Regions from separate parts of the Homo sapiens genome. Here all the other regions are linked to region 2. The links are contacts of gene promoters, found by promoter capture Hi-C in human tissues and cell types (Jung and others, 2019). All regions are on one chromosome and are shown on one strand. Each heading gives the region's core, a stretch centred on a gene start or on the middle of the fragment in contact. The rest is flanking DNA. Distances are from core to core; before and after follow the strand shown.

The links. The method cuts DNA at HindIII sites, captures the fragments that hold promoters and counts their contacts. A contact is called where the count stands out against the background at its distance.
Region 1: a contact is called between a fragment that was not itself captured here and the fragment with the promoter of GRIK2 in region 2, in 1 of the 25 tissues and cell types used here (H1 embryonic stem cells).
Region 3: a contact is called between a fragment that was not itself captured here and the fragment with the promoter of GRIK2 in region 2, in 1 of the 25 tissues and cell types used here (dorsolateral prefrontal cortex).

The regions. Positions count from the first base shown.
Region 1 is chr6:102,004,564-102,008,808 of GRCh38, forward strand. All of the region lies in intron 14 of GRIK2 (glutamate ionotropic receptor kainate type subunit 2), which reads left to right. Among named protein-coding and RNA genes, the nearest start is that of GRIK2, 610 kb to the left of the region's middle. The HindIII fragment of the contact is 3,691 bases long and covers 1-3,331 here.
Region 2 is chr6:101,391,976-101,396,704 of GRCh38, forward strand. GRIK2 (glutamate ionotropic receptor kainate type subunit 2) reads left to right here and starts at 1,733. Exons shown (of 17, transcript NM_021956.5): 1 at 1,733-1,862. The HindIII fragment of the contact is 9,322 bases long and covers 1,389-4,729 here.
Region 3 is chr6:102,025,511-102,029,930 of GRCh38, forward strand. All of the region lies in intron 14 of GRIK2 (glutamate ionotropic receptor kainate type subunit 2), which reads left to right. Among named protein-coding and RNA genes, the nearest start is that of GRIK2, 630 kb to the left of the region's middle. The HindIII fragment of the contact is 7,258 bases long and covers 1-4,420 here.

The DNA of each region.
Region 1 (4,245 bases), core at 236-2,735, 610 kb after region 2:
AAAATTACTAAATCCATACAATGACCATATGATCACAGAGGGTCAGAAGCAATTCAATTCTTGGGAGTGAAAGCATCATATATACCTGTTGCTCATCCTTCATTCCGTCTGCCCTCTAGTGCAACATTGTTTTTGTTCTCACTTCTCGATACAAAGATCAGCTAATGTTATTTCAGCTCCTTAGAATCAGAGTATAATGTGCCTACTATGAAGGAGAGAAATGTATTTATATAGAATAGCTTTTCACATTATATTGTTATAGTTAAACTGCCCCCCCACCACCTTTCTCCAGTGCATTTTTTTTTTCTTTCTTTCTTTCTTTTGTCCACAGCAGGATCTATTCCTTTTGCATTTCCAGGAAATTATTAAGATTTTAATATTAATTTCTGGCATAAAAATATTTTTTAATTTGTGTAGGTGGCAGGAGAACAGTAGCCTATATTTATTAATACTCTTGTCAAGAAATAGCAGCTTCTCATGTACTTCTTTTTACATATTTTGTTACTCCTGAATTTTTAATCTTTTGGTTTATGTTTGTACTGACTAGAATAGAAGGATAATATTTCATATGTGCAGTATATATATTATGTATATTTATATAAGTATATATACACAATTCCCTCTAAGATATGTACATATATATGTGTATAGACATAATACACACATACAATCATATAATCTTATAAATATTCACAATATGAGACTCTGTGAAAGAAGTTCTTTAAAATGCTGATCTTCAAATAAAAGATTAATATATAATCTATAAGTTGTGATCTTTATTTTGGCTATATATTTGGGACTTCTTATTTATAAATTAGCATAATTTTATTGATATTATACAATTTAAGTGAGTAAATGCCAGAGTCCAATCATTGAGCTCGGGATCTATGCCTAAGTGTGATTCTTGGCCAAGAAGAACAATTGATGGTTGACTCAGTCTTATGCATAACCCTGAGGGAATAAATCTCTTTATTGGCCTTCCTATATAAATCTTTCCATTTATATAACCTTTCCATAAAAATAAGCTTTATCTTTGGTATATTAAACACTTATCTTGTTCATTAATTTTTTCATTGAATCATTGTTTGGAATGCTTAAAGCATAACATTTAGTCCAGTAAATTTGCTTTTACGCCAAACCTCAAACGTAATCAGTGAAAATATATTTTATTTCTTATCCAAGTGTATTATATTACTTTGGTATGGCTACTATAACAGAATATTATAGATTGGGTAACTGAAACAATAGATATTAAGTTTCTGTCAGTTTTGGAGGCTGGAAGTTCAAGATCAAGGTGCTGACAGGGTTGGATTCTTCTAAAGCCTCTCTCTTTGGCCACCTTCTCTGTGGATGCATGTGGTCTCTCTTCTGCATGCACACGTGTCCCTAGTGTCTCATGTGTGTCCTGATTTCCTCTTATAAAGATTCAAGCTTAGTTAGATTAAGGTGCACTGCGATGGCCTTATTTTAACTTAATTACCTGTTTAAAGGCATCTATCTCCAAATACAAGCACATTCTCAGGTATTGAGGGTTAGGACGTCAACAAATGAATTTGAGGGGGATACAATTTAGCCCATAGCACCAAGAATTCTGCTCAGTAAATATTTTTCATAACATTAGTGCAGAAAAAAATATAACATTGTGTAATAAAAAATAAATACTTTCAAAAATTATTTAATTCTGTAGAATAGAATCCCAGAGCAATTCAATGAAAATGAAGGAGGCTATCTTTTATTTCTTGGTACAATAGTTAGGAAATGTTAGTAGAAAGGGTATTTGATTTGAGAAAAGATGATAAACCTTTTATATATATATATATATATATATTTTTTTTTTTTTTGAGACATACAGTGGAGTACAGTGGTGTGATGATAGCTCATTGCAGCCTGGATCTCCCAGGCATAAGCAATTCTGTCATCTCAACCTCTTGAGTAGCTGGACTACAGGCATACACCTCCACTCCTGGCTAATTTTTGTATTTTTTATAGAGACAGGGTTTCGCCATGTTGCCCAAGCTGGTTCCAAACAACTGGGCTCAAGTGATTCTCCTGCCTTGGCCTCCCAAAGTGCTGAGATTATAGGTGTGAGTCATTGCGCCTGGTCCAGCATACTGTCATACTGAGATAATGATCCTTATTAAGCCCCTTGACCCCTACAAGCCCTGTCATTTTTTTTCATGGCATGTTTATGGAATAATGTTTTGGGAGATCAAATGAATTATATATTTGCAAGTTCTAATATAATAAAATCGCAAATAATCATATCTTATTGTTTGATATTACTATCATAATTATCATCATGTTCGTGTAACATACATTTGACAAAAAATAAATGCATATTTTCTGGGTAATTTTAAATGGAAATAATTAATATTAATTTTGTTGAAGAACTTTATGAGACCCTTTTCAGTAATTTAGAAATACTCCTAATTCTGTGAAAATTAATGTATATTTTTAAGAACCTATTATGTATAAAAAGCTAGATTGGGTGTTGTGCATGATACAATTGTAAACAAAACGTATTCCAGTTTTTAAGACAATTGTTTCCAGTAACAGTAATATACCAAATTGAATATGGATGGTTCCTTAAAGATAACTCTACATGAAGTGTGGTTGTAGCCCATGAGAGTTTGTAGAAAGTCATGATTGTAACTGTTTTGTGCAGAGTGAGAAGATAAGAAAATACATTTTGAGAAGGTAATTGAAAAGGAGAGAAATGGGAGGAAATGAGACCTATGTAAGAAAATTCATAGTGTGAGTTTGAGTGAGAAGTAATTAGGTCCTGAAATAAAGTAAAATTTGAAAACTGGATAAAGGAAAGATAAATGACATAAATATTTAAATGCAGGGTTTGCAAGCTGTTAGAATATTCTTTTCCTGCCACCTTCACTTTGTGACAGTACTCATTCTACCTTGCATCATCAGCAATAATAGTTGTATTCTTCTTTTGATCCTGTATTTATGGAGGTGGCAATACTACATTTTGTTTTCCTCCCACCAAATAGCATGAGAACAATTACATAAACCATTTGTATTAAGCTTGAAGAATTGAATTGCATTGAAACAATGCAATTGTTGAAACAGATGGAATCAAAAATTTTCATATTAGATGATAGTGGTGGAGGAAAGTAAAAAAGGGTAATGCCATTTATATAAATACAAATTGCAAAAAAGAAAGTTTTCTTAGGAAAGAGGTTTAATTCACTCTGGGCTGGGTCTAGTTTAAGAGGCTGGGATTAAGTAGATGGCAATGTTAAATAAATTATTGGACATTTTATTGTCCCTTAGGGGAATACCTCTATCCTTCCTAAATGTAGGAAAAAATCTCCCTACATTTGAAGTATAAGTAAGGGAAAGGGGTTCCATTAACACATTATTATTCTAGTTTTTAAACTGATGGTCTTACCAAGGTGAAGTTGATAAGAAAAGGCAATGGTAGAATATTAAGAAAATCAAAAGTTAGAAGGCAGGGAAAAGGAAAAACAACAACAACAACAACAAAATTTTAAAGTAGATTAGAAAGGTGGAACCAGAAAAGTAAAGTGTTTTATGCCAAGGAGATGGGCAGATGTCATGAAGTCTAGCTAAAGAATGTGAGGAAACCATTGGTCTGTGACTTTAAAGCTTCAGTGTACAAATAGAAAGGAACAACTTGAAAGGTCAAGATAGAAAAAGACAAGAAAGAGAAAGCATGCTTTTTAGAAAGAGGACTTGGAAGACACAAAACAGCACATGACCAGGCAACAGAACAGAGAGGGTAAAAACAGAATGGAGTAGTTTTGAGAATTTACAAGATAGGCATAAGCTGTTTGATGGAACCAATTTTAATGGCTTCAGCAAAGTTGAAAGCAATGTCGCCTGATGACAGAGAACTAGTAACAAAGTATTTCAATGATAAAGAAAAGTAAAAAATATTTTATATGGACACACCAAGAGGTAAGCACAAATTACAATTAACAAAGAAGACTCGTGTGACCCATCATTAATAATAAACTCTGGGAATTTAAAGAATTGAATTCTAGAAGGAATTTTGCCTCTAAAACATGAGATGCTAACACTAAGTGAACAATTTAAGGCTTCACTTTTGTCTTTTCCAACTGTAAAATATTTTCTAACAGTATTTATCTGATCGAAATAATTTTATGATTCCTAATGAATCCATAGCAAACTCCTAGTGAATCATAGTGACTCTCACTGAAAGTGAGTGCTTCAGGACTTTGAAAAATAATAGTTACTATACAGCCA
Region 2 (4,729 bases), core at 483-2,982:
ATTGCCACTAACTCATCTCTCCTTAACATAAGTCCCCAGTCCCCCTCCCCCCAACCCTGCCCCACCCAGGAATGCTCAGTAAGCATGTTGTGGGGAACGGGGCGCAGAGAGTCCTGGATGGTGACCAAGAGGGAAAGACTGGCGGTTTTGGCAGGACTGAATTTCTGTGTTTCAGAGCTATTCTGAGCCAGGCGCTAGCCTCAGGGTGTGGAACATGGCCCTGCTGCGCCAGGGTCCGGCGAGGGCTTAACTTTACTAGGGCTGCAGTGAAGGAGGAAGCAAAAGGGCAAGTTCTGGTCTCCAGCTCAGACAACGGGTCCCTGGGGACTCAGAGCCTCTCTAATTCCCGGACCTCGGAATTAGATAGATAGTGGAGAACCACCAGGGACTGGAACTGCTAGGGGACTGCAGAGCCGTGGAATCCCCCCTGGCCCCTTCTTTATGCAGCCCGTTTGAAATGGTCTCTTGAGCCCAGTGCGCCTGGCCTGTTCCCGCTTAGCCTCACTTAAATCTCCTCGCGAATCTGAGCTGGCCAACTTCCTCTGGGGGAAACTGCTAAACTCAGCTCCAGTTAATATTGTAGGGCTGAGGATAAAATAGCAACGGTTTTGAATAGATGTTGACTTTTCCGACCCAGAGGAGCGGAACTCAGGGATTGTTTGCAAAAGCTAATCGTTTCCACAGTGAAGCAGGGAGAGCCTGGTGCGCTCACCGCCGCCAGCCCCTCCCTGGAAGCCAAGCTGCGGGAAGACTCTGGGACTCAGTTGCCCCTCCCCATCTCTGGCCTTTAAAAGAGTCCTCCCGAGAACTTGGACCAGTGGCCGCCAAACCAGGGCTGCTTCCCAGACTCCTGTCTCCAATCTTGGAGTCTGCGACCTCAGGTTCGGCGCCCACTAGATCTCGAATCCAACTTCTTTCTGAAATGTGTTTAGGTTGAGAGTTCCGGGGCCTGGGCGGGAGTTTGGTGGGGAGAGGGGAGTCTGCTATTTAAGGCGCCATACATACACAGAGACAGCCCGCCCGACCTCCTAACACTCAGGAAAAGTCAATTTCCAAGCATCTGTTCTCAATAATGGTGGCAGGGAGCAGGGCACTGTGACTCCCAGCATCTGAGGGAATACCCGCAGCAGCGCTACCAGAGCGCATTTGCTCTATGCGCTGGAGGTCGGGGTGGGAGGGTGCGCAGATCAAGATCTTTTTTTGCGAACCTCAGGGAAATGACCGTAGTTGGACTAAGAGGTCCACTTTGGAGACTACCAGCAGCCCTCCAAGCCCTGGCAGTGGAGAAGTTTCGTTGCTATGGTTTCGGAGAGGCATAAAAGCCATCACCCAGAAGCAAATGTGTTTGGGCTCCTTATATGTGTTGTCACCACCCAAGGCTAGGCAAATTCCTCGGCGCTTTGCATGCATCACTCACTCCCTGACAGAGCATCTTGGCCTTAGTCTCCCCATCCCAGGAGGCGGGTGTGCGCTAAGGGAGCGAAGTCCAGCCGGAGGCTTCGTAACATCCAAGTCTAGGGACACCAGGAATTCTCTCGCTCTAGCTCCTGTGGTCCAGGGGTGGGAGATGCCCCCGAGTGGCCGCGGCGGCCAGGAGCGTGCAGGGGCCACGGGGAAAGGAGCGCGGCGCCTTTAAAGCAAGAGGCGAGGAACCCCCGCCAGGAGGCGTGTCTGTCTCTGCCGCCGCCGCCGCCGCTGCTGCTCCTCGGTCACCGTCTTCGCCGCTGCCGTCACTCGCGCTCGGCGCCGGCGGCTGCGCTGGTCGGTCTGGTAGCTGGGGACTTTTCCGCCCGACCTCCTCCGGCTGCTCCTCCCCGAGGACCACCCCACCCCCTCCCCGCCCACCTCACCCCTAGCTCCAGGTAAGGACTCCCCGGCTGTGGGCTGCACTCCGGGCTCCTTCACGAGGTGTTTGTTTTCAAGAGGACGGGAGGGACTGCGGGTGGGCGAGGGGCATTTTCCACCTGGAGAGAAGGAAGAAGGCGAACAGTAGCGCTGCGGACGTCCGTGCGCTCGGGGCGCCCGCTGGACGGATTCACTGCGAGTCTTTGTCGGGCTTATCTCAGCCAATTCCCGTCAAGCATGCAAGTGGCTCTGTTGGCTGCAGTCGCCTATGTTCTCCACATAAAATGATTTAAGAAGTGGACGTGTCAGGAAGTGGCCTCAGCTACGGGGACTCACGCGAGGCGAAGAGAATGAGACAGATGGCAAGAAGCTGTGTGGCTGCCGGCGGGTCTGACGAACTCCCCATCCCTCCTTCTGCCCACCCATCCTTCCATTAACCCTACTCCTTAGTTCTGCGCTGAGGAAGTATATTTATTTTAACCGGCACCCGTATTAAGAGCTTCTGAAAAAACTTGGAGGGCGTCCCATTAGGGTAAGGAGTGGGCAGTGTTACCAGGGTGGATCATAAACCTCAAGAACTTTTAACGAACCACATCCTCTGATATTTTTACCTTTAAGGAGATAGAGTTTCTTTACCAAACAACACGACCGAGCTGAGGCTCCTTAGAGAATAATTTCCAATTTAGGCAATGGGGAATATTAGAAAACTTACTATTAGTAGCCTTTTGGTAATGCACAGATTATCTTCTATCGTTTATTCATCTCCATACTGTAAGTATTCTGTCATCAGAAATTATCTTATGGATTGATGATTATTTTCATTTCACGAGAGATGATTGGTTCATTTGAGTCTTAATTAGTCAGTTTAGTTACTGAAATAAATGCAATTGTATTTCAATCTTGATTTGTCTTAGTTCATTACTTTCTAACTTTATAGAGTCTATTCCTGTAACCACCAAGGCAGCCTATCAACTTCCAGTGGCCTTAAAAACTTTTGAGTCAAACAAACAACAAAAAATTGAAATGCACAAGAGCAAGGTGATAGAGAATTGAGCAATGTTTGGAAGTCTTATCTGTTTGTTTTCTCCTATTTAAACCCATTGAAAATCACACAGGCTGAAATTTAAAAAAAAAAGTTCTGGGATATGTAAATTTATTCCACTTCAATTTGTTAATTAAGATACACTTATTTTAGTGTCTAAAAATTAATCAAAACTCTAAATGTCATTAATCATCAATGCAGCAGAATGTTGCTGGAACAGCTGATAATGTGTTCAGAATCATAAGGGATACCACAGCATGCATAGTTAAGAAGAGTGAGTTGCAAGTATGCAACAGTGTGATTTCAACTGAAACCTGACTCAGTCCTGACTTTATTCTCTGAGATCTTTAATGCCATGTATAAACAGGCTGTTTGTTTTAGCTAAATTGCTATGCAACAGGCCACTTGCATGGAATAATAGGTTAGGTGTTACTATAAGATGAGGTTTTTCAAATGTCACATAACAGCAGGACTTCCGTGACAAGTCAAGTGGAATCCTTAGTAAGAATTCCATGTGAAAAATTTAAATATAGCTATGGCATGTAAGAACCTTTGAAACATCTTTGAAATTCAGGTTGTTCTGGGGTATGTATTTGCTGTTTCCAGCAAAAGGTATAGGCATTGTCTTTTTAAATGTTGTGCTATAAAGATTATTACACATTTTCTCATACCCCAGCAGGTGGCAGCTAACTAGAATAAGATTCATTTTCACTGGCAGAATAGGAAACTAAAATTGTTTCTCAAGTAATAGTGCCCAAGAATAAGAGGTCATTAGTATCTGCAAATATAAAAATATAGTGAAAGATGAAGCTAGTGGGTTTTTTTGTTATTGTTGGAAGAAGCTTTGCATTAACATGATATGCATTTTCTTCTTTGTCAATTTATCATAGGTTTGATATTTGTGTCAGCCTTCTATGATTTTTTTGAGGTATACTTCTAAATACAGCTTCTCTCTGGGTGTGCGTGTATGTGTGTTTTTGCAGTTTGTTATCTCTGCTTTGACCTTGGAATCTACAGAGCTTTGGCTCATAGAAATAAAGAGTGCCATATGGTTAAAATGAGGAAAAAAATGAGACCATAGAATAAAATATATAAATCTTACTAAGTATATATAATTGCCTGATATCCAATAGCAGTAGTTTTCTCTTTCCTTTAAGGAAGAAGCAAATTACAGAACTGACACAATTTTTAAAAGGGTTAAATCTAGTCAGTGAAATACTGTGTAAGGAATTTATTAATCCTTCATATAACCTCAGAACTATGATGTGTGGTATCAGTATTGGGGAGAAACTTGTAATAACTTCAAAATTGCCACATGTTAAGGCATCAACTATGCCACCAAATCATTTTATTGTAGTATAGGGATGTAAATTTAGCATTCCCCCCCCCCCCAGGAAGTGAGTGAGTTTAATGTGAAAGAACAAGAATTAATCTCATTACCCTAGTAACAGATGGAAATCTGGAGGTGGAGAATTGAAAGTGATAACTAATTGTACATTTAAAAAATGTCTTTAGCCACTGAATATTGACAGCATGTTATTTGGCATTCTGAATTGTGGTCTTTCTAGCAATTTTTTTTTGTACTGACAATCAAGTAGTTTAGTGTTCATGAGGAATCTCACAATTAATATAAGTAGTTTTTTTAACAGTATGCCCTATTACAAAAAAAGATAACTACATCTTGGGCTTATCAAGCAATTGCACTGAAAAATACACACAACACAGTTGATAAAATAGTCCTCTTGATAATGTGAACAATGCAATAATTCCAATTCCTTTACTCTGTGTAGTAGAAATTTACACATTGTCACTCAAATATCATGTTAGTTATTTATTGTGCTA
Region 3 (4,420 bases), core at 1,569-4,068, 630 kb after region 2:
ACATCAAGAGGAAGTGGAGAAGCGAGGCACATGGATATGCAGGGAAAATGCATTCCAGCTAGAGAAAACAGCATAGTCAAAGACCCTCTATTAAATTGTACCCCTAATTAAAATGTGCTGTAAATTAATGATTAATATAATCATCAACTACTTTATACATACTCATATTGTGATATGTTTTAATTCTCAGTGTACTTGTAATGCATTATAAGACTTTAAGCTTTGCCAGGACAGGGGTCATGTTTTGTTTTTGGTAAATCTACGCACACACAGTGCGTGGCATGGTTATTTATACCAAGCTGGTGGTCAATATATATTAGAATGATAGATCAAATGATTGAATGAATAATCTAGTGAATTATTAAATAGAATAAGTTGAGTTTTAAACTAAAACTTTTGTGCCTCTAAGTCTCCTCACCTGAAAAGGCCTGGCGTTAAGGGCCATGTTGGTTAAAGCTCCTACCTCAGCAAAAGCTCAGGGTGCTTTTTCTATTCTTGCTTACTAGGGTGATTAAATAACAATAGAGGGGAAAACAAGTTTCCTTATCCTTAAAAAATTAAGAATTATTTTAATGGTAAAGGCATATACATATACACTTACATATATATATATATATATATATATATATATATATATATATATATGAAGACAGTAGGTATATGCTACAGTCATCTCATGTACAAGTACTGTGTTTCTCTTTTGATTGATTATGTAAAACAAGCAACGAGAATAAATTCTGATTATCTTTACAGAGCTTTATGGACTGTCAAAATGGCTTTAGATGAGTTTTCTCATTTATTTATCACAATACTTCCACGATATTGTTAAAGAAGCTTTTTATTACATTAGGTAGGGAAAAGAAATTATGGCTTATCCAAGGTCCTTCATTGACCCAGTGTGGTAAAGTTTCTTAATTGTATTTCAGTTTGTCCACATGACAGTAAAATATATTCTTGATGGCTATTATTTATAAGAAAAGAAAATATTTGATCAGGAAAGTTGAAGACATCTCATTTAAAAGATAATATGCAATGAACCTTCATTATGAGATACTTGGAATGGTACACAATGAACTATCAAATGCTGTTTCAACTACCTAAAAAGGATAACTGTCTTTAACTGCACCAAATGATACTAAACTTGCTGCCTATCCTATTATGCTTAGTCACTCTGATTTCTTTTATTCCTCTATTAACTCACACTAACACTGAGAAGAGCAATTCTCTCTGTTTCATTGTCCTTCCCTTCAAATATCCTGTTTTAAGAGATTACAGATGCCTTGAGATAACACTGCCAGAATTATCCCAAGGCTGACAGGTTTACTAACAACTGAATGCTTTTCAGATCACTGCACTGGACTCAGATCCACCTTTGATATGAACCACATATGGCTTCAGTCTTGTTTCCCTGAATTAACTCTAATTTCCTAGTGACCAAGGTCAGATGAGTCCAGATAGGGCTCAGCTGTTCTTACCTAGCACATATGTTCCAGTATTGTTGGTAATTTATTTCTGTAATAAAAAATTAAAATGGAAATCTCAGCCAGAATCTCTTTTACCAAGGGAGACCTTGCTATGAGCATTAGGGCTTATTACATGTAACTTTTTCATAACAAAATAAGAATTATTATTATAGCACTATAGCCAAATATTTAAGTTAGCATTATAAACAAAATTGGTCATGTAAAATTTATTGAAAAAGAATAATTTGAGTTAGTACCAAATACCACAAAATTTACATTGTTAATTTTAAAAAGTCAGAAATTAGTTTGCTTTTAGCAATTTTACTGTATTAATCTATACACCAATGTTAAACTAATTCTGCCAGATTATTTAGGAGGTAAAACTTTTATTTATAAATGTCTGTTTATTAATTCAAGAGAAATAGAATTTGTTAACAATAAAGTCTTTTTCAGATTACTTCAAGATATTTTGGGTGTTGTACCACCTGATTAACTTTTTAAGGTGTCTGAGCTGAAGTCAACATTTCTAATATTATGTATAACAAAACATATTACAATATAGTATTCAATTTTCTTTGCATGGTGGATGTGTTGTTGTTATGACATTTAAAACAAAATTAATGTTAAAGGTTTTAAATTTCATTCATGGAGAAACCTTTCCTGTAGAACATACTTAAAAAGTTAATTCTAAATCCTTGCTTTAGGAGGTTACACAAATATTGATAATGTTATTTTCTTATCACTTTTAGACAGTCAGGTTCATAAAAGCAAGTTCAATGAGCATAAGATGGTTTCTAAATTTTAATTTATTTTTGACAGCAAACAAAATGAACAAAGGTGAGGAATCCATTTGTGTACCTAAGATATCTTTAAAAAGAAGATACCTTTATATTTGTCAAATATGTTGCTCCCAGTAAAAGAAAAGAAGATCTATGCAAGTGGTTCAAGAGTAAACCTTACCTTATTAGCTTTTCATAATATTTTCGAAGAAATTTAAAACAAAATTGCAAAGCACTATTCTTACACTGATATTTTACCAGTTCACTAAAACATTCAGAAAAGAAATTTACCCTAAAATTTGTTAGTCATTTGAGACTTGCAAAGAGCCAAATAATTTCCAGGTTGCAAACTTTATTTAGTGTTCTAGCAGAAACTAAACTAAAATGTCTATAAGTTTTAAATTGTTAGATGTGTGTTTAAAATATTTTAAATATTTACATTGTATGCTCTTTTTAATACACAAAATCATTTGGCAATTGTGAATTTTAAAAGGGGGTGTATTTCTTATTCCTTTAAAGTTTATTTTTGACAAAAATACATTATTTTGTTGATGTTTCACAATCCATGAAAACTGCTATTATAAGCAGATAGTGTCTTCTGAACTGATTTTATTGGTTTGTGCTGATGTAGAAAAAAACAAATCGGCTTACAAGCCTCGGCATTTTTATAAAATAAACATTGCTAAACATTGACATCCCAAATCCATCTAATATAACATAGAAAAATAAGTTTCTTTAAGGAAAGGAGGAATAAAATAGAAATACATTCTAGTATTTTTAGTGGCAGATAGGATAAGTTTAGTGGGAAAATAAGATGATTTACGAAAACTTAAAAATGCATTTTTCTTACAGTGCTTTTTTTAAGATATGCATTTCATGCAATATCTCTGAGACATTATTTAATTGATTCTCTTGGCTTTATCTGGCTAATTACTCTGTATAATATAACTATAAGGATAATAATTAAGAAATCGTTTTTTTTATTTTTGTCAGGTAAGTTATAATCTTTTTATGTTTTATGTAATTAAAATTCTTTTGCAAAATCATGATGCCATGAATTTTATCTATTTTCACTTTTTTTTAAGGCAAGGAGCTTTGGTTCTCTCAACTGTGTAGGAAAGAAAAATATTTTAACTATTTCTTATCTTTTACTTGGCTACCCTCAAGGTGAGCTCTTTATGATCCTCTAATTTGTTGTTACCTCAATTATTTGCTAATAGAAAATTATTTTATGATGTGCTTAGCTTACTACCTGTCTTTTATTTTATATATTTCTCTTAGGTACTACATTCTTTTGGAGAGTATTTCCTAATAAATTTGGCAGCAGCTATGGACAGGGCAAGGATGTGTCTCAATTCCTGAGTCTTTCCTGGTGTTCTGTCTCAGTCTTCACTTTCTCTCATCACAGTGGCCAGAGGACCTTCAAAGACTGTGGACATTTTGGCTGATCAGCTTAGTCCTTATGTTTGATTTTAATCAGGTCCCTTGGCAATGATCAGTATCTACTTCACTGAAAGACACTAGCCATTGTTACAGGTGATGGAGCAAAATGTATTTACAGGTGGCTCCTTCAACATGCCGGTTGTTTTCCACGTATAATCTTTAGTTTATACTGCAACTTTATATTTCCTTTCTTCTATGTCAATTTGCATACAACTTTCATATTCAACATAGAAATATTTGATTAATTTCATTTTTACCTCATCACTGATCCTAAGTGCATTTTTATTCCTTTTCTTTAACTTGTACAGCTCCCATTTATTGATTTTTACGTTTCAAGTTCCTATAATCTATTTAACTTTGAGAATGTTCAACAACTTTTTGCTTTATTAAAAATAAATCTAGCTAAGTCTTCTTATTTTCCCCTTACACAATATATTTTACAGTGGAAGTATGACCCCATGGGTGTTTAATATAAATATTTTCAAACCAGAGGTCAAGCCAATGGCAGTGTTCTAAATCCTCGTTTATTCTACTCAGGACCCACCTTATTAGGAACATTGCCTTATTTTTTTTCAGCTTCACTGAGGTACAGTTGACCTCAATAAAATAATAAAAACTGTATATATTTACAGTGTTGGAGAGTCTTTCCTAATAAATTTGACAGCAGCTATGCACAGAGCCAGGCTGAGTCTCAATTCCTGCGTCTTTCCTGGTATCTTATCTGTATCTACATAC